7 separate regions of the Homo sapiens genome follow, and all the other regions are linked to region 4. Evidence: promoter capture Hi-C in human tissues and cell types (Jung and others, 2019). All regions are on one chromosome and are shown on one strand. The core of a region is centred on a gene start or on the middle of the fragment in contact, and the rest is flanking DNA. Distances in the headings are between cores, read along the strand shown.

What was found. The method cuts DNA at HindIII sites, captures the fragments that hold promoters and counts their contacts. A contact is called where the count stands out against the background at its distance.
Region 1: a fragment that was not itself captured here is called in contact with the fragment with the promoter of TSR1 in region 4 in 1 of the 25 tissues and cell types used here (H1 embryonic stem cells).
Region 2: a contact is called between a fragment that was not itself captured here and the fragment with the promoter of TSR1 in region 4, in 2 of the 25 tissues and cell types used here (IMR-90 fibroblasts and bladder).
Region 3: a contact is called between a fragment that was not itself captured here and the fragment with the promoter of TSR1 in region 4, in 1 of the 25 tissues and cell types used here (hippocampus).
Region 5: a contact is called between a fragment that was not itself captured here and the fragment with the promoter of TSR1 in region 4, in 4 of the 25 tissues and cell types used here (bladder, heart right ventricle, hippocampus and 1 more).
Region 6: the fragment with the promoter of CLUH here is called in contact with the fragment with the promoter of TSR1 in region 4 in 1 of the 25 tissues and cell types used here (dorsolateral prefrontal cortex).
Region 7: a fragment that was not itself captured here is called in contact with the fragment with the promoter of TSR1 in region 4 in 7 of the 25 tissues and cell types used here (H1 embryonic stem cells, IMR-90 fibroblasts, dorsolateral prefrontal cortex and 4 more).

The regions. Positions count from the first base shown.
Region 1 is chr17:2,726,700-2,730,121 of GRCh38, forward strand. The region is part of intron 3 of CCDC92B (coiled-coil domain containing 92B); the gene reads right to left. Among named protein-coding and RNA genes, the nearest start is that of CLUH, 17 kb to the left of the region's middle. The HindIII fragment of the contact is 6,490 bases long and covers 1-3,422 here.
Region 2 is chr17:1,980,738-1,984,060 of GRCh38, forward strand. The region is part of intron 1 of RTN4RL1 (reticulon 4 receptor like 1); the gene reads right to left. Among named protein-coding and RNA genes, the nearest start is that of RTN4RL1-AS1, 35 kb to the right of the region's middle. RefSeq lists enhancers at 1,498-2,339, 2,340-3,181. The HindIII fragment of the contact is 8,412 bases long and covers 1-3,323 here.
Region 3 is chr17:2,677,965-2,681,306 of GRCh38, forward strand. PAFAH1B1 (platelet activating factor acetylhydrolase 1b regulatory subunit 1) reads left to right here. Exons shown (of 11, transcript NM_000430.4): 10 at 2,200-2,356. It also overlaps the pseudogene RN7SL608P. Among named protein-coding and RNA genes, the nearest start is that of MIR6776, 13 kb to the right of the region's middle. The HindIII fragment of the contact is 7,278 bases long and covers 1-3,342 here.
Region 4 is chr17:2,335,145-2,338,391 of GRCh38, forward strand. It overlaps TSR1 (TSR1 ribosome maturation factor), which reads right to left and starts at 1,313. Exons shown (of 15, transcript NM_018128.5): 1 at 1,187-1,313; 2 at 893-996; 3 at 367-586; 4 at 116-250. The coding sequence starts at 1,283. SGSM2 (small G protein signaling modulator 2) reads left to right here and starts at 2,357. Exons shown (of 24, transcript NM_014853.3): 1 at 2,357-2,601. The coding sequence starts at 2,545. RefSeq lists an enhancer at 1,481-1,590 and silencers at 1,821-1,950, 1,981-2,290, 2,391-2,500, 2,601-2,700, 2,731-3,040. The HindIII fragment of the contact is 7,910 bases long and covers 1-3,247 here.
Region 5 is chr17:2,612,889-2,616,172 of GRCh38, forward strand. The region is part of intron 1 of PAFAH1B1 (platelet activating factor acetylhydrolase 1b regulatory subunit 1); the gene reads left to right. It also overlaps the pseudogene SAMD11P1. Among named protein-coding and RNA genes, the nearest start is that of PAFAH1B1, 21 kb to the left of the region's middle. The HindIII fragment of the contact is 6,951 bases long and covers 1-3,284 here.
Region 6 is chr17:2,710,156-2,713,534 of GRCh38, forward strand. CLUH (CLUH binding protein of NUMT mRNA) reads right to left here and starts at 1,609. Exons shown (of 26, transcript NM_001366661.1): 1 at 1,407-1,609. The coding sequence starts at 1,506. It overlaps LOC105371592 (a long non-coding RNA gene), which reads left to right and starts at 2,154. Exons shown (of 2, transcript NR_136412.1): 1 at 2,154-2,244; 2 at 2,327-2,678. RefSeq lists enhancers at 168-247, 1,082-1,978, 1,979-2,874 and silencers at 1,488-1,607, 1,738-1,917. The HindIII fragment of the contact is 23,363 bases long and covers 1-3,379 here.
Region 7 is chr17:2,636,919-2,639,964 of GRCh38, forward strand. It overlaps PAFAH1B1 (platelet activating factor acetylhydrolase 1b regulatory subunit 1), which reads left to right. Exons shown (of 11, transcript NM_000430.4): 2 at 1,181-1,402. The coding sequence starts at 1,371. Among named protein-coding and RNA genes, the nearest start is that of PAFAH1B1, 45 kb to the left of the region's middle. The HindIII fragment of the contact is 4,031 bases long and covers 1-3,046 here.

The DNA.
Region 1 (3,422 bases), core at 244-2,743, 390 kb after region 4:
GCCTCCTGGGTTCAAGCGATTCTCCTGCCTCAGCCTCCGGAGTAGCTGGGATTACAGGCACCCGCTACCACACCCAGCTAATTTATTTTTGTATTTTTACAGATGAGGTTTCACCATATTGGCCTGGCTGGTCTCAAACTCCTGACCTTGTGATCCACCCGCCTCGGACTCCCAGAGTGCTGGGATTACAGGCGTGAGCCACCACGCCCAGCCCTTTTTTTTTTTTTTTTTTGAGACAAAGTCTCCCTCTTGCCAGGCTGGAGTGCAGCGGCATAGCTCACTGCAGCCTCTATCACCTGGGCTTGAGTAATTCTCCCACCTCAGCCTTCCCAGGAGTTGGGACCACAGGCATGCACATTTTTTGTAGAGATGAGGTTTTGCCATGTTGCCTGGGCTGGTCTCGAACTTGTGGGTTCAGGCAATCCTCCTGCCTCAGCCTCATAAAGTGCTGGGATTATAGGTGGGAGTCACCGTGCCTGGCCACATGTTTGTCATTTTTTGTTTACTTGTTTATTGTTGGCCTTTGCCACTGCAGCAGGTTTCAACCCTGGATAGACATTAGAACCACCCAGAGAGCTTTAACCAGTGCTGTTTCCTGGGCGCTATGAAAGACCAATTGCACCAGCATCCCTGGAGCTGGACCTGGGAACTGGTGTTGCTTAAATCTTCCCCGGTGGTTCTCACGTGCAGCGTGAGTTGAGGACCCCTGCCTCCTGGAAGCTCCATCTCGGCAGGACCATATCCTAGGACTTGGCACAGGTGAGTGTAGGGACGTAGGCAGCCGAAAGTGGCAAAGAGTGACCCTGGAAGGATGAAAATCACCAAGTGATAAGAGGACAAAGAGGGCTGGGTGCAGTGGCTCACGCCTGTAATCCCAGCACTTTGGGAGGCCAAGGTGGGCGGATCACAAGGTCAGGAGTTCGAGACCAGCCTGGCCAGCATGGCGAAACCCCGTCTCTACTAAAAATACAAAAATTAGCTGGGTATGGTGGTGTGCGCCTGTGATCCCAGCTACTTGGGAGGCTGAAGTAGGAGAATTGCTTGACCCTGGGAGGCGGAGGTTGCAGTGAGCTGAGATCGCGCCACTGCACTCCAGCCTGGGCGCCAGAGTGAGACTCCGTCTCAAAAAAAAAAAAAACGAAAGAGGACAAAGAAAGTTCTTAAGCCCAGTGGGTTGACACACTCATCCCAGTGACTCAGGGGAGGGCTGAGGTGGGAGGATCTCTTGAGCCCAGGAGTACAAAGCTGCAGTGAGCTATGATTCTGCTACTGCACACTACAGCCTGGACAACAGAGCAAGATCCTGTCTCTAAAAAAAGAAAGAGTTCTCAAAGCCCATTGAAAGAGCCAGGCACAGTGGTCGTGCCTGTAATCCCAGCACTTTGGGAGGCTGAGGGGGGCAAATTGCTTAAGCTCAGGAGTTCAAAACCAGCCTGGGTGACATGGCGAAACCCCTCTCTACAAAAAAGCTGGGCATGGTGGCATGTATCTGTAGTACCAGCTAATCTCGAGGTTGAGGTGGAAGGATCTCTTGAACCCACCTAGGAGGCAGAGGTTGCAGTGAGCAGAGATGGTGCCATGGCACTCCAGCCTGGGTGACAGAGTATGTCTCAAAAAAAAAAAAAAGGCCAGACGCGGTGGCTCATGCCTGTAATCCCAGCACTTTGGGAGGCCGAGGTGGGTGGATCACGAGGTCAGGAGATCTAGACCATCCTGGCTAACACGGTGAAACCCGTCTCTACTAAAAATACAAAAAATGAGCCGGGCGTGGTGGCGGGCGCCTGTAGTCCCAGCTACACGGGAGACTGAGGCAGAATGGCGTGAACCCGGGAGGCAGAGCTTGCAGTGAGCCGAGACCGCACCACTGCACTCCAGCCTGGGCGACAGAGCGAGACTCCGTCTCAAAAAAAAAAAACAAAAAAAACAAAAAGATGAAGACATTGGATTGGGGCAGTGGCTTGGGCCCAGGTGATCTCAAAAGCCCTTTCAGATAAAGGACAGTAAGTGGGGTGAAAGTGGCTGTGTCACAGAACTGTCCTAATCTAGTGTCTGGGGCATGTGCTGCCTTCCTCCAGCCACCTAGGCACCAAGAGGTTGCCTGTGGTTGTCCTCTAAAGAGGGCAGGATTAGTCCAAGTTCGTAAGTGTTTAGATGGTCTGTAACTGATCTTCATGCATGAATACACAAAGCAGTTTCTAGGGTTCCTAACATCATAGCTTAAACTTCCAGCCTGTAGCATTTGATCTATAAGCAATACATCAGTATGGAAGAGAGTCTGTTCTTAAGAACTCTTCTGGCCAAGAAAGACTTTTTATGATTCCTTTTAACATTTTTTTAATATTAAAAAAAAATGGTAGGGACAGAGTCTTACTATTTTGTCCAGGCTGGTCTTGAACTCCTGGGCTCAAGTGATTCTCCTGCCTTGGTTTCCTAAAGTCTTGGGATTACAGGCGTGAGCCACCACACCTGGCCTTGTGATTCATTTTTAATTAAATAGTTACTATGTCCTGGCCAGACTCGGTGGCTCACACCTGTACTTCCAGCACTTTGCAAGGCTGAGGCGGGTGGATCACCTGAGGTCAAGAGTTTGAGACCAGCCTGGCCAACATGGTGAAACCCTGTCTCTACTAAGAAATACAAAAAATTAGCCGGTGGATGGTGGTGTGCGCCTGTTGTCTCAGCTACTTGGGAGGCTGCAGCAGGAGAATCACTTGAACACGGGAGGTGGAGGTTGCAGTGAGCCGAGATCGTGCCACTGCACTCCAGCCTGGGCGACAAGAGCGAGACTCCGTCTCAAAAAAAAAAAAAAAAAAAATTACTGTGTCCCTCCAAGTCAGGTAACGTGCGTTATACTTCAGAGACAATGGGTAACACTCAGTCCTAGTTCTGAGATCTTATAATCTGATGATAAAGATCTCAAGAATGCAATTAAAAAATTAATTGTGGGGGAAAAAATGACAAAATTTAGCATCTTAACCATTTGTAGGAGTACCATTCATTACTGTTAAGTATATTCATGTTGGGGTGCAGCAGATCTTTAGAACTTTTTAATCTTGCAAAAGTAAAAGTCTACACCCATTGAACTCCCCCAGCTCCCCCATGTTATGGGTGAAGTAAACAAATATTTTAGAGGAATTTCTACAATGGCAAGAAGTCATGCTTTTGTAAAATGCAGGATTTACTAATGTGTGTGTGTTTCTTTTCTCGTATAGAACAAGTTCCTTGAAGTCAAGGAACCCATCCTGACATGCATCTTGACACTCGGCCTGTGATCACTCAGTTCAGTGAATCTTGACACTGACCATGTGATCACTTGTGCCAGGATGGGAAGGACTGGGGAGGTGGGTCACAGCAAGGAATTAAGCAGGCTAAGGGGAAGTAAAGCCACATTACCATTTCCTTCATGCCTTACTTTCCTCACT
Region 2 (3,323 bases), core at 291-2,790, 350 kb before region 4:
GCCAACATGGAGAAACCCCGTCTCTACTAAAAATACACAAAAACAGCCGAGTGTGGTGGTGTAGCCTGTAATCCCAGCTACTCAGGAGGCTGAGGCAGGAGAATCACTTGAACCCAGGAGGTGGCAGTGCGGTGTGCGGAGATCACACCACTGCACTTCAGTCTGGGCCACAGAGTGAGATTCTATCTCAAAAAAAAAAAAAAAAAAAAGAAGTGGAGCAGAGTTTCCCAGGGGGCCAAAACTGGCCCCTGTCCCTGGCTGCTTCCTGGAGCCACACTCATCAGGCAGGAGGCACTGATGGGGTAAAGTGCTCCACAGGAGCCCCTTGTGACCCACAGGGAGTCACAGTGCAAGAGGCCAGCAGTTTCCTGGGAGCCTCGTGCCTAGGACATTGGCAGCACTTTGGGAGGCTGAGGAGGGAGGATCACTTGAGCCCAGTTCAAGACCAGCCTGGACAACATAAGGAGACTCCGTCCCTACAAAAAAATTTAAAATTATCTGGGTATAGTAGTGCACACCTGTAGTCTCAGCTACCTGGGAGGCTGAGGAGGGAGGATCACTTGAGCTCTGGGGGTCAAGGCTGCAGTGAGCCGTGATCGTGCTACTGCAACTCCAACCTGGGTGACAGAGTGATACCTTGTCTCCAAAAACAACAACAACAAAAACCTAGAAATGAAGCTGACTCCATCTTGGTATTTTTTTCTTTGCATAACTCTGCTTTCCAGAGACTTTAGGGAAAGGGGACTGCTGGGCCTTCCCTCCCTTTTGCCCTGCGGCTGCCTCGTGTGCAGATTGGCTGTGCTGAGGTCTTCCCTCCCTCATGCCCTGTGGCTGCCTCGTGTGCAGATAGGCTGACCTGGTCCACCCTGAGCAGCCTCACACGAGTCACTGCCTCCTTCCAGCTGAGCCTGCTCCAGCCTGAGCTGTGGCTGACGTGCTGGTACACACTGCCCTGGGAGCTGTGTGCCTCAGCCTGGACTGCTGTTCTCCCAGGAAGCTCTAGAACCCACAGTGCAGTGTCTGGGACACAGCTTGTACCCAACAAGCACAGTCATGCATCACTTAATGACAGGGTGTGTTCTGAGAAATGTATCATCAGACCATTTCACTGTGCAAACATCATAGAGTATACTTACAGAAATCTAGATGCTAGAGCCTACCGCACACCTAGGCTATATGGGATAGCCCACTGCTCCTAGGCTACAAACCTGCACAGCACGTGCCTGTGCTGAACACGGCAGGCAACTGTAACACAAGAGTGAGTATTTATGTATTGAAACTGGCCGGCACGGTGGCTCACGCCTGTAATCCCAGCACTTTGGGAGGCCGAGGCGGGTGGATCACCTGAGGTCAGGAGTTCCAGACCAGCATGGCCAGCATGGTGAAAACCCATCTCTGCTAAAAACTACAAAAATTAGCTGGGCGTGGTGGAGAGTGCCTGTAATCCCAGCTATTCAGGAGGATGAGGCAGGAGAATCGCTTAAACCCAGGAGGCGGAGGTTGCAGTGAGCTGAGATCACGCCACTCCACTCCAGCCTGGTGAACAGAATAGGACTTTGTCTCAAAAAGAAAAGAGAAGAGAAGAGAAGAGGAAGCCGGGCGAGGTGCCTCGCGCCTGTAATCCCAGCACTTTGGGAGACCGAGGCGGGCGGACCACGAGGTCAGGAGTTCGAGACCATCCTGGCTAACACGGTGAAACCTCATCTCTACTATAAATACAAAAAAAAATTAGCCAGGCATGGTGGCGGGCGCCTGTAGTCCCAGCTACTCGGGGGGCCAAGGCAGGAGAATGGCATGAACCAGGGAGCGGAGGTTGCAGTGAGCCGAGATCGCGCCACTGCACTCCAGCCTGGGGGTCAGAGCGAGACTCCGTCTCAAAAGAAAAGAAAAGAAAAGAAAAGAAAAGAAAAGAAACTCTGGGAAGGGGCAGTTCCACAAACACCGGGCCCTCGACGCCGTGCAGGAAGCCCTCCCCTCCTGCATGGAGGTGGACCGCCAGGCTCCCCGACAGCTCCAGGTTGCTGGGTAACCCTGAAAATGGAGTGAGGAAAGTTCGACAACTTGCTGACCCAGAGGAAGGAGGAATGGGGTGGCTGAGCAGGAGGTAAAGCGAACCTCAGGGAGGGGCAGCGGCTGACAGTCACTGTGTGCCACAGGCTGGGCTCCCTTTGCTGTGAGCTCCTTGAAGGGCTGGGTTTTCCCCAGTTCTCTCTCAGGCACCCCGCAGGGCAGCAACCCGCAAACTGGGCAAGTGCCTCTGGGGGGCCATTTGGTGGTGGAGCTATGCTGAGACCTCACATTCTTCTTCTTCTTCTTTTTTTTTTTTTTCCTGAGACAGAGTCTCGCCCTGTCACCCAGGCTGGAGTGCAATGGCGCCATCTCGGCTCACTGCAACCTCCACCTCCCAGGTTCAAGCGATTACAGTAGCTGGGATTACAGCTGGGATTACAGGCACCCGCCACCACACCCGGCTAATTTTTGTGTTTTTAGTAGAGACAGGGTTTCACCATGTTGTACAGTCTGATCTTGAACCCCTGGCCTCAAGTGATCCACCTGCCTCAGCCTCCCAAAGGGCTGGGATGACAGGCGTGAGCCGCCACACCTGGCCGAGACCTCACATTCTTCTGAGGATACTTGTCCAGTAATGACACCAGCGGGGGCCAATTGACAGTGATACTAACAAAACATCCGCAAGCCCTTCCCAAGACGCTGCACCTAATTCGGGAACGAGGTTCACTGCAGCCTTCGCCTCCTAGGCTCAAGCGATCCTCCCACCTCAGCCACCCGAGCAGCTGAGACCATAGTCACACAGCACCACGCCTGGCTAACAGCTTCTATTTTTTCTGTAGAGACGGGGTCTTACCAGGTGTGTCCAGGATGGTCTCAAACTCCTGAGCTCAAGCGATCCTCCCACCTCAGTTACCCAAGCAGCTAAGACCATAGGCAGGCACCACCATGCCTGGCTAACATTTTCTATTTTTTTTGTAGAGACGGGGTCTTACCCAGTGTGTCCAGGATGGTCTCGAACTCCTGGGCTCAAGCAATCCTCCCACCTCAGCCTCCCAAAGTGCTGGGATTACAGGTGTGAGCCACGGCGCCGGGTCCTGAACCTAACTCCGTACTCATGACTCGTTTTCATAACGGGGTCCACAAAACCTTTAGGCTCCACCCAATCCGGATCGGAACCCTGCTCCCTCCCGGCTGGGACATGTAAGCTGGTTTCCCCTGGTAGAACCAGGCTGGAATAAGGGCTGGCCGGAGCCCTGAGGCCGAGGAAACCCCCAGATCATGTCTCAAGGCCAGCTGTATACACCAAATGCAGG
Region 3 (3,342 bases), core at 825-3,324, 340 kb after region 4:
AAATAAAGCAGGCCAGGCGCAGTGGCTCACTCCTGCAATCCCAGCACTTTTGGAGGCTGAGGCAGGTGGATCACCTGAGGTCAGGAGTTCAGGACCAGCCTGGCCAACATGGTGAAACCCCGTCTCTACTAAAATTACAAAAATTAGCCGGGCGTGGCCAGGCGCGGTGGCTCACGCCTGTAATCCCAGCACTTTGGGAGGCCGAGATGGGTGGATCACCTGAGGTTGGGAGTTCGAGACCAGCCTGACCAACATGGAGGAACCCCATCGCTGCTAAAAACACAAAATTAGCCAGGCATGGTGGCACATGCCTGTAATCCCAGCTACTTGGGAAGGCTGAGGCAGGCAAATCACTTTAACCTGGGAGGCGGAGGTTGCAGTGAGCCAAGATCACGCCATTGTACTCCAGCCTGGGCAACAAGAGTGAAACCATCTCAAAAAAAAAAAAAAAAAAACCCGGGCATGGTGGCGCACGTCTGTAATCCCAGCTACTCGGGAGGCTGAGGCTTGAGAATCGTTTGCACCTGGGAGACGGAGGTTGCAGTGAGCCGAGATCGCACCATTGCCCTCCATCCTGGGCAGTGAAGTAAGACTCTGTCTCCAGGAAAAAAAAAGAAAAGAAACAAGAAAAACATACTCTTGGCCAGGCACAGTGGCTCACACCTGTAATCCCAGGACTTTGGGAGGCCAAGGCAGGAGGAGCCCAGGAGTTTGAGACCAGCCTGAGCAACATAACAAGACCCTGTCTCTACCAAAATAAAAGTTTAAAAATTAGTCATGCATGATGATGCATGCCTATAGTCCTAGCTACTTGGGAGGCTAAGGCAGGAGGATTACTTGAACCCAGGAATTTGAGGCTTTAGTGAGCCGTGATCATGCCACTATACTCCAGCCTGGGCAACAGAGTTGCTGTCTCTTTTTAAAACAAAACAAAATTTTGCAGTGCTGTGCTATAACTGCACTATCCAGCGTGGTAGCTACTAGCCACATGCAGCTATTATACTCTTGAAATGTGGCTAGTGAGACTGAAGAACTGAATTGTTGGTTGTATGTAATCTTAATATTATATATTAAAGTAGGCGTACATGGACAGTAGCTACCATGTTCAACTGTGCAGTTCTAAGCCTTTTTCTTTAATGTGTAGATGAATGTGCTATTTTTTATAAAAATGGTATCATGCCCCTTAAGGTAGCTTTGTAGCAAACCTTTAATTTAGAAAGTATGTGATCCTTGCTTATGTTGTTAGATGCTCTTCTACACTGATCTACAGACAATGCTTTGTGAACATCTTTGCTAACTAAATCTCTGGGCATGTCCTTAAAGATAAATTGCAAGAACAGAACTGCTGCGACAGGGGAAATATGGATGGATAGATGGATGGATGATTAAATGGATGGATGATTAGATGGATGAATGATTGGATGGATGGATGGATGGATGATTGGATGGATGGATAGATGGATGATTGGATGGTTGGATGGATAGATGGATGATTGGATGGATGGATGGATGATTGGATGGATGGATGGATGGATGATTGGATGGATGGATGGATGGATGATTGGATGGATGGATGGATGGATGGATGATTAGATGGATGATTAGATGGATGATTGGATGGATAGATAGATGGGTGGGTGGGTGGATGGATGGATGATTGGATGATTGGATGGATGGATGGATGGATGGATGGATGGATGGATGGATATATAGATATATAGTGAATGCCTGTATATCCTTCACTTAGTTACCATTTGTTGGTTTTCCTTCATGTATGTGTGTATATTTTGCTGAAATCATTTGAGCGTTCTTTGCAGACATCGTAACACTTTACCCCCAAGTATTTTAGCATGAACCACCTAAGAACAAGGATAGTATATAAATAACCAAAATAAAATTATTCACACTCAAGAAATTTACCATTGATAGACTACATATTGAGATTTGTTCTTGTTATTTCCATAATGCCCTGCGGGACTTCTTTTTAACCCTCATCCAGGACCCAGTCAGGGATCGTACGTTATATTCACTCCTCATGTCTTATGAGTTTTCAGTTTCCTTTAATCTAGAATCCCCTAGACTTTTATTTTCTTCTGGTCTTTTGATGTTTTTGGTATGTATAGTTTTATCGTATTATGAAATAGATGCTATTTAAACATTTTGCCTTTTACTGAGTCAAATAACTTTTTTGTTTTTAAGGTGGGTCATGATAACTGGGTACGTGGAGTTCTGTTCCATTCTGGGGGGAAGTTTATTTTGAGTTGTGCTGATGACAAGACCCTACGCGTATGGGATTACAAGAACAAGCGATGCATGAAGACCCTCAATGCGCATGAACACTTTGTTACCTCCTTGGGTATGTACGCCTCGCGAGGTCTCTGAACATTAGATTTTGGAGTGCCAGACAAACTGTGTTTTACATAATCGTGTGGACTTTGCCAGGTAAGAAATGACTGTGCTTTCAGGGCAGAATAGAGAAGACATGAAAATCTTGTGGATTCCTACCATTTGTTTTAAATTCTCCTTTCCCGTTAACTCTTTCCATCGTTAGCCTTATAATAAAAACATTACTTTCTCCACTGCACAACATTGGTTTTGGAAACCACAATTTGTGAAGAGGTTACTTACCACTCTGATGGGTAATTTTTCTCCCCTATTAGTTTGTTTCTCAAACAAAATCTTCCTCAACCTTTCCCACTGGCAGGTGTATACTATCAGATACTAGAAACTCAGAAAATTGTATTTGATTTGAGTAAACATCCTCACTATCATCTGGACTTGAATCTGGAATTTAAGAGAGTGAATACAGTCAAGTATAATAAATGCACTAAAGTATAATGGACCAAAGCCTGCGTAAGGTGGGCTAATACCTGCCTCACAGGATTGGTTCAAGGATTAGGCACAAATACGGAGCATTTATGCCATGCCTGGAACATCGTGTTCAGTAAATGGATATGGCGAGACTGTGTATTGTTAGATTTGAGCCCTGCTGTGCCTTAGTCCCAGCTACTCAGGAGGCTGAGGCTGGAGGATTGCTTGAGCCCAGGAGTTCTGGGTTACAGTGTGCTGTGCTGATGGGATGTTTGCACTAAGTGCAGCATCAATATGGTGACCTCCTGGGAACAGGAGACTCCCAGGTTGCCTAAGGAGGGGTGACCTGGCCCAGGTCAGAAACAGAGCAGGTCAAAACTCCCTTGCTGATCAGTAGTGGGATCGCACCTTTGAACAGCCACTGCACTCCAGCCTGGGCAACATAGTGAGACCCTGCCTTTGAAAAAAGAAGAAAAAGGATTTGAGCCCCATTTGGGATGGGCCAAAGAGGAACAGGCGTTTTTATTGAGA
Region 4 (3,247 bases), core at 63-2,562:
ATATGTGTACATCCCACCACCAGCTGAATATGATCCATCAGTTGTATTCCTGTATCAAATACCAGGCATAGTGCCTGACAAATTAAAGGTGCACAATAAATGCTAACTCACTTACTATAGGTCGGAAGGCCCTGAGCAAAGAGGCAGGAAAGACAGTAATCACCGGTGCTGTCCCAGCCTTCTAGTGGATCAAGGAGGAACAGGATGGTATCAGCTACTTTAGCCATGTCTAACACAACGTGCAGATCCCCTGCAGATAGAAGACACAGTAAGAAGAGGTGGTTGGCACCAGCACATTATTCTAAAAAAAAAAAAAAAAAATACCACTACTCAAACATAATACAAAATATTGGTGTATACTCTAACCTGGCCTTGCTGAGGTGAAAAACCACCGATGTTTCAAGCGGGGGCACAGCAGCATAAAGTTCTGGGTGTTTCCCAATTCATTCAAGTGTACTGTTCCAGTGTCCCTATCTTGAAGCAGCTGCATGGCCTCTGGCAGGGAAATTCTGCTGTGCAGGGGCACCACCAGTACCTGATGAGGAGGGCCATCCTTGCCACCCAGCTGTCTCTTCTCTGCCAGAACCTGAAAATAGAAAGATATCCGAGAACATCTCAGTGTCTCAGTACTTCACTCCAGCATTGCATTTCCACTCCCACAGATGCTCCCCCTACCCAAAACCAGCATCTCTCTAGTAAAAGACCACAGGTATGCCAGCGGGGTGGCAGGAATTCTGACCAAAGCAAAGAATGCTAGACCTGCACGCTCGACACGTGCTCTAGGGCTATGCTCTGTCCCTGGACCCTCCTCCCGGTCTCATTTTCCACTTCGAGGCATTAGCCACCTAGAACACCAGAGAAGCCGCATTCTCCCAAATCCCGCTCCTCTCACCGCCTCCTTCTTCTGCTTTCGGAGCTGGCTGGCGCGATGCCTCTGGTCGACTCTGCTGAGTTCTTTTCTCACCTTCTTGCTTAGGGTTTTCAGTGCCAGACGGCCTGAATGGCAGATTAGAAGGGGCTGGTGTGATCGGCCCCACAAGGTCAAGAAAAGGGACTCCTCTCCGCCCACCTTAGAAAGGGCCTTTCGCGTGGAGCCCAGACGGGAGACAGAAGCTCAGTCTGGGCATGAGGAAAAAGAGTTAATAACGGCCAAATAGCCCTTATTCCTTCTACGTTATCTCCTTACCCTTGCCGTCCCGCTGTGCAGATCCCCGACCCCGATGCCGTCCGCCTTTATGAGCTTTATTCTGCTGCTTGAGCGGGCCGGGGCGGTGGGCCGCCATGCCGCAGCGCGCGTGTACGGAGTCAGCACTGCTTCCGGGCCAGGACAAGCGCTTCCGGTCCCCTCCAAGGGGGCGGGCCCTCCAGGGAGCGGGACTCCCTGCGCCCTCTCGCGAAGGTCTTTTCCAGCAGCTCGTGAGAGCGCCGTGTTAGCGGGTTCGCCAAGCCGCGCTGGGAACTTTTCCCACTTCGCAGTGTGTGGTTGGGGGCTTGAAGGCGCCGGATGTAGACTGTCGAGGCTCGGGCTGTTGGTCTAGCAGGGCTGTTTGTACCCCTTGCATTGTCATTTTTTTGCGCTATAAAGCTGCATCACGTAGAAGCATGTTGACTGGAAGGCTCCATTCGTGCCGAAAAGGCCTAAGCCCTTCCTGTCACCTAGATTCGGGCACGTTGCTCTTCCGTTTGCAACGGCATGTTCTTTATCACTCTGAGCAACCTTTCTTCTCCCTCGATTCCCTAGCGAGGCTTGGGAATCGCGTGGAAGACACTTCTCTCACCTTGCCCGGTTCCGTACCAGCTCAAGCCCGTCCCTGTTACTCCAACCTGCGCCCCGCCTCCCACGGAGCGGCCGGGAAGGACCTTGTGGGACGTGGCGACCCGGCAAGGGGGACTGGCCGCGACCCTCCGGCCGTCGGGCTCGGGCGGCTGCGCTCCCACTAATCTTCCCAGAAACTTGACAACTGCACGGCGACGGCCGGACGGGGATTCAGAGGGGTCACGGGGCCAGGCTGCACCGGCTTCGCCGTGGGCAGGCTCGGACCGCAGGGGACCCCATGCCCGAGCCCCGGCCCTTTCCGTCCCGTCGGGAGAGGGAGCAGGCAGAAGTCAGGGGAGCTTCAGCGGGACCGAGGCTCGCTCTCAGCCGCGGGGCCGCGGGCTCCAGGGCCAGCGCTCACAATGCGGCTTCGCGCCCTCCATGCGGGAGCGGGTGCGTTGCCATGACAGCGACCCCCGTGGCGCGCGCCCGGGTCTGCCGCCCCTAGGCGCGCACGGCCTCTCCCCGCCCCGATCCCCCGTCGCTGTGCGCAACCCCCCTCCGGCTGTGGGAAGGGGCCGGGCCTGCCGCCTGACGTCTGTGCGGGGCTCGGAAGATGGCTGCGGAGCCGAGCACCGGGCAGTGGCTGCGGCGGCGGCGGCGGCGGCGGGCCGGGAGCGCGGCGGGCGGGGGCTCCGCCTTGCGCGTGGGGCGCTGAGCCGAGAGGCGCGGAGGCGGCGAGGGCGCGGGGGCTCTGAGGACCGCTCGGCGCCGCCTCCTGCCACACCATGGGCAGCGCAGAGGACGCAGTCAAAGAGAAACTGCTGTGGAACGTGAAGAAGGAGGTAAAGTCGAGTCAAGAACCCCGGGGGGCTCGCGCCCTGGCCCGCGCGGCCCAGGGGGCAGAAAGGTCCGCGCCCACCCCCCGGCGCGGGCACCCGGGCCGAACCTGGGCCGGGCGGGGCGGGTCCTGGACGGGCTGCGCCTCCTTCCCCTTTCTCGGATGGGGGAGGGCAGCGCCCCTCTGCCCGGGGGACCCGGCCGGCGCTCCCGGCTTGTTTGCTTCGCAGCCCCGCAGCTCCCCGCCCAGTGACGGCAGCGGCGCTGGGAGCCCAAGGCCGGGGGAGGGGTGGCGGCGATGGCGGGGATGGCTGGATCCGGAGCTGCCCATTCAGTGCCCGCGCCGCCAGGGGAGGGGGCGGGGCCCCGCGCGAGCTCCCGCGGCGCAGGTGGGTGTCGTGCGGGCCGAGCTTCCCCACGTCCTAAGTGGGTGTCGTGCGGGCTGAGCTCCCCCTTGTCCGACGTCCGCTGTGCCTCCAGCTACGGAGTGATCGCTGCCGGAGGGGTGCGCCGCACACCTCAGTTTCTCCCTCCACGCCCACCTCCTTAGCCAGGGACCAGGGGCTTGTTTGGAATGGTTTTTAACACTCGGAAGTTTTTCCCTTTTGAGGGAAGCCCCCCTACTTCAGAAAGAGAAGTAGTCCTTCCCTC
Region 5 (3,284 bases), core at 783-3,282, 280 kb after region 4:
TGTGAGCCAGCATGCCCGGCCTGCCACCTGATTTTGTACCATAAGCCTAAAAATGTTTGTTGTTTGTTTTTTCAATTTTTAGTGGTCGAAAAATCAAAATAAAATGTTTTGTAAAATAATTTTATAAAATCCATTTGATAAATTAATAATTTGTAAAAAAAAAAAAAAAAAAGGTGAAATTCAAATTTTAGTGTCCATAAAGTTTTGTTGGAACAAAACCATATCTTTTTCTTTCTTTTTTTTTCACATTTTCCTTTAAAATTTTGTTTTTGTTTTTGTTTGCATCCAAAACTGAAAGAAAGAATGCAAGCTGTGGGAGGCAGGCCATTGCATCAAGTGGTGGCTCCTGGGAGTTTGTGTGGCCCCACCCCCCACCCACCCCTGGCCACTTCAGCACAGAGGCTGGGAAGGGTCTGGGGGCCCTGGAAGCAGAGCCAAGGTCCCATTTTCTTGCTTGGGCGAAGCTCAGCCGGCAGGGCCGTGGCCCCCTTCATAGGGGGAGGTGGCTGTCATGGGGGACAAGGGCTGCTGCTCTCCTGTGCTGAGTTCCCTCTCTGGGGCCCGCAGTGTTGGTGGCTGCAGCGGCAGAGCCATGGGGAAGCTGGCCATGTAGAAGATGTGGCCCAGGCGCCTGGCCACCTGGGCCTGGGTCTTGAGGGCAGGCCCCAGCTTCAACCCCGTGGTGGTCAGCGGGTGCTCCCCCGTCAGCAGTGGCAGGGTCTCCCCTTCGATCCCCTGCTCCCTGAAGACCTGAGTATACTCTCCACAGCCAGACAGCCGCCCCTCCGCGAAGCTGCAGACATCATCCATGGTCCACTTGCTGACGTCCTCAAGGGCTGGGGCCTCCTCCCCATCCACAGAGAGTCCCCCTGTGGCGCTGGGCCAGGTTCTGCTTCTGCAGGAGCTCCTGATGCCGGGCGAGCATCTCCACTCGGGCAGGGGCAGGAATCCGTAGCCTGGGATCTGGCACAGAGGTGAGGGCACTCCCAGAAAGGGGGGCCTGAAATGGGGGCCCAGGGTGATGTGAGGGGCATTCTGGGGCGACAGCAAGAGGGGGCGGCTGTGGCAGCTCCTTGTCAACAGTAGCGCAATGAGCGGCCTCTTTATATATTATATATTGTTTATATATTGGGTTTTTTTTTTTTTTTTTTTTTGAGACGTGGGTCTGGCTCTGTCGCCCAGGGTGGAGTGCAGTGATGTGATCACAGTTCACTGCTGCAGCCTCAACCTCCCAGGCTCAAGCTATCCTCCCACCTTAGCCTCCTGAGTAGCTGGGACCGCAGGTGTGTGCCACCATTCCTGGCTAATTTTTAAATTTGTGGTAGAATGAGGTCTTGCTGTTTTGCCCAGGCTGATCTCAAACTCCTGAGCTCAAGGGATCCTCATGCCTCAGCCTCCCAAAGTGCTGGATTAGTGAGCCGTGGCACTTACCTAGCCAGTATATTGTTTATTGTTGCTTTCTTACTGCAGTGGCAGAAGAGTTGCTACAGAATCTGAATGGCCCACAAAACCTAAAATACTTACTATCTTTGCAGAGTTTGCTGACCCCTGGTCTAGATACAAAGGGGAGAGAACATAAGATAGAAAGCAGCAAACTTAATATAGATGCAAAGAATGTGTCTGTATTACAACATCCCAGGAAGACTAGATAGTTATATAATGAACAAGGCAACTGTGTTTTCTTCTTGAAGGATTTTTAAAGACGACTTTTATAAAAGCTCTGTTGCCTAGGCGGGAGTGCAGTGGTGTCATCATGGCTCACCAAAGCCTTGAACTCCTGGGCTCAAGTGATCCTCCCACCTTAGCCTCCTGAGTAGCTAGGACTACAGGCACATGCCACCATGCATGGCTAGATTTTATAATTTTTTCTTTTCTTTTTTTTTAGAGATGAGTCTTGCTGCGTTGCCCAGGCCGGTGTTAAACTTCTGGCCTCAAGCAATCCTCCCACCTCAGCCTCCAAAGGGGCAAAGATTATAGTGCACCACCATTGCAGGCCAACATTAAAGTAAATTTAAAGGAAAAAAGTGACCCACAATCTTGAAAATCATACGAAAACAGTCAATGTTTGTCCTCACATTCCTTCCCACTATTTGTGGCATATGCAGTTGGCCGTCCATATCCATGGGTTTTGTACTGTGGATTCAACCAACTCCAGATTGAAACTATTCAGACAAAATGATAGTTGTGTCAGTACTGAACATGCAGTTTTCCTGTCATTATTCCCTGAACAATACAATATAACAACTATTTACATAGCTTTTATTTTTTTAGGTATTCTAAGTAATCTAGAGATGATTTAAAGTATATGAGAGTATATGTGTAGGTTATATGCAAATACTAAGCCATTTTATATAAGGGATTCGAGCATTGTTTTATTGGTATCCGGGGGGTCCTGGAATGACTGTACATGTGTATAATATACAACAACTGATATCAGATAGAAAGTACAAGGAAAAAGCGATTTATGACAAAATCTAAAGTCATAATTCAGTTTCTTTAGAACCTTTAGGTGTTCAAAATGGCTTCATTTCGAAGACAAAAGTAGGAAACTTTCTTTCTTTCTTTTTTTTGAGATGGAGTCTCACTGTGTCGCCCAGCCTGGAGTGCAGTGGCACAATCTTGGCTCACTGCAACCTCTGCCGCCCGGGTTCAAGCGATTCTCCTGCCTTAGCCTCCCGAGTAGCTGAGACTGCAGGGGCCTGCCACCGCGCCTGGCTAATTTTTCTATTTTTAGTAGAGACAGGGTTTCACCATCTTGGCCAGGCTGGTCTTGAACTCCTGACCTCATGATCCCCCTGCCTTGGCCTCCCAAAATGCTGGGATTACAGGCGTGAGCCACCGCGCCCAGCCTGAAACTTTCTCTTTTTAGAGGGGCAGTGAAGAAGTAGTCTTTGAGCACCCATCAACAAATGAACACATCTGGGATGAAGATTGTACCTAACATGTTTGATCAGTCTGGTGTGGCAATAAGGATGCACCCAGGAGGTGATAAGGAAATCCAGGAGGTGATAAGGTAGACAGACTGAGAAAGAAGACACAAGGAGAGAAAAGTAAAGAGAGGAAAGATGAGCATTAATGAGGGTGCTTACAAGCGGCAGAGGCAGTGAATACAAAAACTTAGTGGAAAGAAAGCAACGACGAAACAAGAATAGGATGAGTTCTCAGTTACCTACTTTATTCTTCAAATAGCCCTTATTCAGCACATCTTTCTTGTTTGTTGTAGAATGGAGAGCAGTTTATTACATTTGATAATCCTTGAAAGCATTAATTTGCTTGGAGGGTAC
Region 6 (3,379 bases), core at 359-2,858, 380 kb after region 4:
TAAATCGCTGTGTGACCTTGGGCAAGTCACTTCGACTCTTCGGGTCTCTGCTAGAGGGGAAATCAGCCAACCTCCTCTCATCCAGCCTGCCCCCACTGATTCAGAGCCACATCAGCACAAAGCCTGGTAGGTTGGGGCGATGAGCATCTGCTCTTCTGCCCAAACCTTGGCCTTGTCTAGACAATCAGCAGTACTGCCCCAGCACCTGTCCCTCACCCCAAGGCAACTCCGCTATGATGGGAACAGGGTCAGAGGGCTGAACGCTGTCCCCATCCTGATTCCCAAGTCAGCCCTGGCGCACTCACTGAAGCTAGGAAGGGAGATGATGAGGCGTTAAGACCACAAGTCCCAACTGAGGACAGTCGACGGAGGAGGGAGGGACTGGGGGACAGGAGTAGCTCTGCACCTCCACTGCCACCCAGAGCAAAGAGGGCCTGAGGAAGATGACGACTGAGGGCCTGGGAAGGGGATTCCAGCCCCAAGGCTGGAGTCTGAGACACGGTGGAGGGAACAGAAGGAAGAGAAGGGGCTCAGGAGAAAGGGAAAGCAGGCCCCACCCGAGACAAGCTGCAGCCACTGCCACAGTCACCACCATACAGCCCCCATGGGGGATCGCTGGGAGCTTGACTCCACACTAACGACCTTTGCCTTAAAAACAGCAACTCTGGTCTGACCCACTTTTCGCAATAAGGCAGGTTAATGATCAAGTTCTGGCACAAACACTTCCCCCTGCCAAGGAGTTTGGCTCTGCCCCATGCAAAGGCAGACGCCCCCTACACCAGGTCGGCCGAGCAGGCCAACACACCTGAGAGTCTCCGCCACAGCCTGAAGACCTGCGGTTATAGCCTGGCCTCAGGGCATGAACCAGGGACGCCCCTCACAACGCACACCCCGCACCTCGTGCTCTTCCCACAAACCAAGCCTGGGAAGCCTCGAGCGGAGCTTCACTCCCAGGGCTGCAGCCCTGCGCACAGGGGATGCCTGGGAGGCCGCCGCGGAGCAGGTGCCGAAGGGGGCTGTCCCGCAAACGTCGGAGCGACCCCAGCTCAGAGAGCTCCCATGCTCGGGCGCAGAGGGGGTGGGGCCGCCGATTCTTTCGGTCTGCGGCGGCGGCGCACCCCGAAACCGCGTGTGCGCGCACGTGTCCCCGCGATGAGGCGCGCGTGTGCCCGCCGAGGGTGCCAGCCGAGGCTGCCCTCCACGGGACCGCACGTGCGAAACCCGGGCCGCAGCCGGGGGCGACTGTGAAGGTGACCTTCAGCGCGGGGGCGACCCGGTGAAGGCCCCAGCGAGATACAACCGGGCCCGACGCGGAGGGAAGGCGGCGATCCCCGCGGAGTCCCGAACCCGCCCGCCCTGGTCCGGCGCCCCCCGCCCAGCGGCCCGCTGGCCCTGGCCCCGCTCACCGGCCGCGCCCGGCCGCCCCTTGCCCCCGGCCTGCGAGCCGTGTTCCCGGGCGCTGTCGGCCGGGGCGGCCGCCGGCAACTCGTCCGTCTTGATAACCATGGTGGCGGGAGCGGGCGTCCGCCTCGGCTGTCCGCGCCGCCCGCCGCGCCACTAACCCAAGTGCCCTGCGCGCCGCGGCTGCTGAGGGAAGGACGGAGTCACCGGCCCACGTGGTGCGCGCCGTGGCCTTTGACCCCGCCGCCGTTTCCCTGCCCCACCCTCGCGCCCGGCCCAGCCCACGGCGGCCCGCGAGGGACAAAACGCGCCGCGCCTGGTTCCCCGCCCACGGACGCGGTGACTTTCCAGAACGTCTTAAAGGCAACGCACTCTGACTCAAGGCCCAGGGAGGCTGGGCGCCCTCGCGGGGCGGGGCCTCGGGGAGACTCCCTGCTGCTCGCTGCCCGTCGGGCGGGCACTGTGACCTTGGGTGGAGACTGGTCTGGTTCTGCCATGGCTAATCCTCCCCTCTCCAAGGATCCCCTGTTTTCTCTTGCAGATTTGCTAAATGACCGCGCAGTCTGTCATCTGCGGTGTTCGCGTGACCCTCAGCGCCCTCCCCACCCGGCAGGCCCTTTCCCGCCGAATGGGTGCGGCTGGATTATTGAGGGAGTGGAGGGTCGCTTAGGGCACGGGCACGAGAGGCGAGGGCGAGACGTGGCTAATGGGGATCAAGAGTCAGAATGGACCCGCCAAACTTTGCCCCGAGCCAGAACGGGCTCCCTACCCGCGTCCTCGACCCATGGGTCCTCACCTCCAGGCTGGTGTCCTCATTTTACAGTGGAGGAGGCCGAGACCAAGGTCACACAGAGAGCAAGGGGTAGAGCCGGGTCTGACTCCATCCACAGCCAGGACGCTTTAACTCGTATTTTTCACTTGGCAGGGGCTTGGCGGGGACGGAACGGTGAGGTCAGAGAATGCTGCAGAGGGGACATTGGGACCAGGTCTTGCAGTGAGTTGAAGTGCTCCAGGCAGAGAGCGCCGGTGGGTCTTTCCTGGCCAGGCCGCAGGGGGCCTTTGGGAAGCACCCGAGGCCTATAACCTTCGGAGCGTTTGTCAAGCTCTAATGAGAACTGGAAAGCTTCAGCTTCCCGAGGTGGGCTGGGAGGGCCTTAGGTAGGGCCTCGCACAAATTGCGAAGGAAAGCCGACCTTGTTCTGGAGAGCACGTGGTGAGGAAAGCCAGCGACTTGATGTGAGCATTTAAACGGGAGGAAGGAAGATGAGAACTGGTAAGATTCTTCTCGGCCGGGCGGTGCAGCGGCTCACGCCTGTAATCCTAGCACTTTGGGAGGCCGAAGCCAGGCGGATGACTTGAGTTCAGGATTCGGAAGTTTGAGACCAACCTGGGCAACATTTCAAAACCCCCGTCTCTACAAAAAATATTGTTTAAAAAAAGCCAGGTGTAGTGGCACGCGCCTGTAGTCCCAGCTACTTGGGAGCTGAGCTGGGAGTATCACTCAGGACGGCTCAGATTGAGCCCAGGAGTTCCAAGCTGCAGTGAGCTATGATCGCACCACTGCACTCCTGCCTGGGTGACACAGACACCGTCTCAAAAAAAAAAAAAAAAAAAAAGCCGGGCGCGGTGGCTCACGCCTGTAATTCCAGCACTTTGGGAGGCAGAGGCGGGCGGATCACGAGGTCAGGAATTAGAGACCAGCCTGGCCAAGATGGTGAAACCCCGTCTCTACTAAAAATACAAAAATTAGCTGCGCATGGTGGTGTGCGCCTGTAGTCCCAGCTACTCGGGTGGCTGAGGCAGAAGAATCGCTTGAACCCAGGAGGTGGAGGTTGCGGTGAGCCGAGATCGCGCCATTGCACTCCAGCTTGGGCAACAAGAGAGAAACTCCGTCTCAAAAAAAGAAAAAAAAAGTGTGCATATATATATATAGTGTGTGTATATATATATAGTGTGTATATATAGTGTGTATATATAT
Region 7 (3,046 bases), core at 272-2,771, 300 kb after region 4:
CTGTGTTTCCCAGGCTGGTCTTGAACTCCTGGGCTCAAGTGATCCTCTTGCCTTAACCTCCCAAAGTACTAGGATTAATTACATATGTGAGCCACCACACCCCGCCTCTCATTCTTCTTTCTTCACTGGCTTATTCATTACTGTATTCTCAGTGCCTGGAGCAGTGACTGGAATGGCATTTGAAAGGTACTCAGGAAATGGTCCTTAACTCTTCTGTCCATGATAGGTTTCTAGATTGGTTGTCCCACAGGATCTTCATTATATGTTAATTTCATATCATTTGGAGGATGATTTTTTTATTGCTTTGAATTGCCTCTTCCAATCAAATTTTATATATACCAGTAGCCTCTATTTTAAGTAAGACCATCTCAAATACATTTCTTAATTAGGTACATTGGTTAAGAGAGCATAAGATTCCAGCACTTTGGGAGACTGAGGCAGGAGGATCCCATGAATACAGGAGTTTGAGACCAGCAATGTAGGGAGACCTGTCTCTACAAAAAAAAAATTTAAGAATTAGCTGGGCATGGTGGTGTGTGCCTGTCGTCCCAGCTGCTTGGGAAGCTGAGGTGGGAGGATCGCTTAAGCCCAGAGGGGGAAGGCTGCAATAAGCTGTGATCATGCCACTGCACTCCAACCTGTGTGAGAACCTGTCTCCAAAAAAACAATAAAAAGCGTAAGATTGCTAAGTAGTGTATGTTATAAATACCGGCCATTCTAAGGTTATTGGTGACTAACACTCAACCTTGAAGGTTACTTCAGTTATAGTTGGCACTGTTCGGCTTGTGCAGTTCATGAAACCCTTATCTGTTTTACCTTTTATACCTTTTTTGTAAATTTGAAATTTTACTTTTTGTCTCTAAGAGAGAATTACATTCGTTTAGAGTTACATGTTAATATTTGAAATCAAATGTATCTGGCAGGTTAACATGATTGGGAGTGGGTAAATGTATGTTAAATTTAAAAGTAATGCTGTTTTGGCTCATTGAATTATTAATTTAAAAGACAAAACAGTATGGTTTTTGACATTAGTTGACTTTCACTATAAGTGGAAAATCATCATCTAATATTTATACTAACATCACAATAAAATTTATCTTTGAAAATGAGTACTGTAACTAATAATTTAGAAATAAATTTTAAGTGAAATAATCTTTTTTTTTCTTCTCTTTCTCCTTAGGTGGAATGAATCTTACTTGTTGAATATCTTCTGGTTACTAGTTGGATTCATTTGTGAAAGAATCATTTTCCCCTGTGTGGAAGACACTTAGTGGCATATTTAAATTATAAGTCCACGGATCAAAAAGCTTTTTGATTTCCCAAAGGAGGGACATACCACTATATCAGATAAGCTTGACATTACAGCCAAGATGGTGCTGTCCCAGAGACAACGAGATGAACTGTAAGTTTCTTTGTTTTGTGCTTTAAAAAAAATCTCCCTCATGAGAGAGAAAGTAGTAAATTAAAATACAGCTTTGGGAGGTCTCTTCTAAGATTAAAACTATTTTTACCAGTGTTCCAATATTAGTTTAGGCAGTTTGGTCTGATTTTAAAACAGTCTTATTATGATATAGCATTATTTTTAAAATTTATTTATTCTTTCTGAGAAGGAGTTTTTCGCTTTTGTCACCCAGGCTGGAGTGCAATGGCGCCATCTCGGCTCACTTCAACCTCCGCCTCCCAGGTTCAAGCTATTCTTCTGCCTCAGCCTCCCAAGTAGCTGGGATTACAGGCACCCGCTACCATGCCTAGCTAATTTTTGTATTTTTAGTAGAGATGGGCTTTCACCATCTTGTCCAGGCTGGTCTCGAACTCCTGACCTCAAGTGATCCACTCACCTCGGCCTCCCAAAGTGCTGGGATTACAGGCATGAGCCACTTTGCCCGGCCGTGATACAGCATTATTCACCCTTGTGACTTGACTGTATGTAAGTTTAACGCAAAACAGACAAGTCAGTTGGGATGAGTTTTACCCTAAGCTTATTTTTATTTTTATTTTTGAGATGGACTCTCGTTCTGTCACCCAGGCTGGAGTGCAGTGGCGCAATCTCGGCTCACTGCAAGCTCTGCCTCCTGGGTTCACGCCATTCTTCTGCCTCAACCTCCCGAGTAGCTGAGACTACAGGTGACCGTCAACACGCCTGGCTAAGTTTTGTATTTTTAGTAGAGATGGGGTTTCACCGTGTTAGCCAGGATGGTCTCAATCTCCTGACCTCGTGATCCGCCTGCCTCGGCCTCCCAAAGTGCTGGGATTACAGGCGTGAGCCACCGCGCCTGGCCCCTAAGCTTATCTTTTAAAATATTATGTTCAATAGGAAGTTAGGTGCTTCATAGCTCCTCTAAACCTTTTTTTGGTGTGGAATCTGTGCATTAGAAAAATGAAAGCTGTTTTGTTCTTGTTATCACTGATGTCTTTCCTTTGCCTTGTTGTGTTTCTTTTATCTTCCAATGGCCATTACAGAATTTGAAGAATTTGAACTTTATGAGGTAGCTAATAAAATAATTAATGCAGATGCTTTAATGAGAGAGGTGTGAAATGGTTTGACCTCTTCTGTTTTAGAGTATTTTATAGCATTCCATTTTTATAGGTGAAGAACATAGGGGGATTTTCCACTCCCCCGCTTCACCTGACTAGCTTTAAAAACATAAAAACAAAACGGGAAAATGTAGCTTTATGTTCTACTTCTTTTTTTTTTTGAGATGGAGTCTTGCTCTGTCGCCCAGGCTGGAGTGCAGTGGTGCAATCTCGGCTCACTGCAACCTCCGCTTCCAGGGTTCAACCAATTCTCTTGCCTCAGCCTCCCAAGTAGCTGGGATTACAGGCGCCTGCCACTGCGCCCAGCTAATTTTTGTATTTTTAGTAGAGAAAAGGGTTTCACCATCTTTGCCAGGCTGGTCTCTAACTCCTGACTTCGTGATCCTCCTGCTTTGGCCTCCCAAAGTGCTGGGATTACAGGCATGAGTATGTTCTATATTTTTACAATTAAAAAAAAAATTTTGTGGCTTTTCAACAATTTTTATTTGGAAGTAATTTCAAATTTATAAAG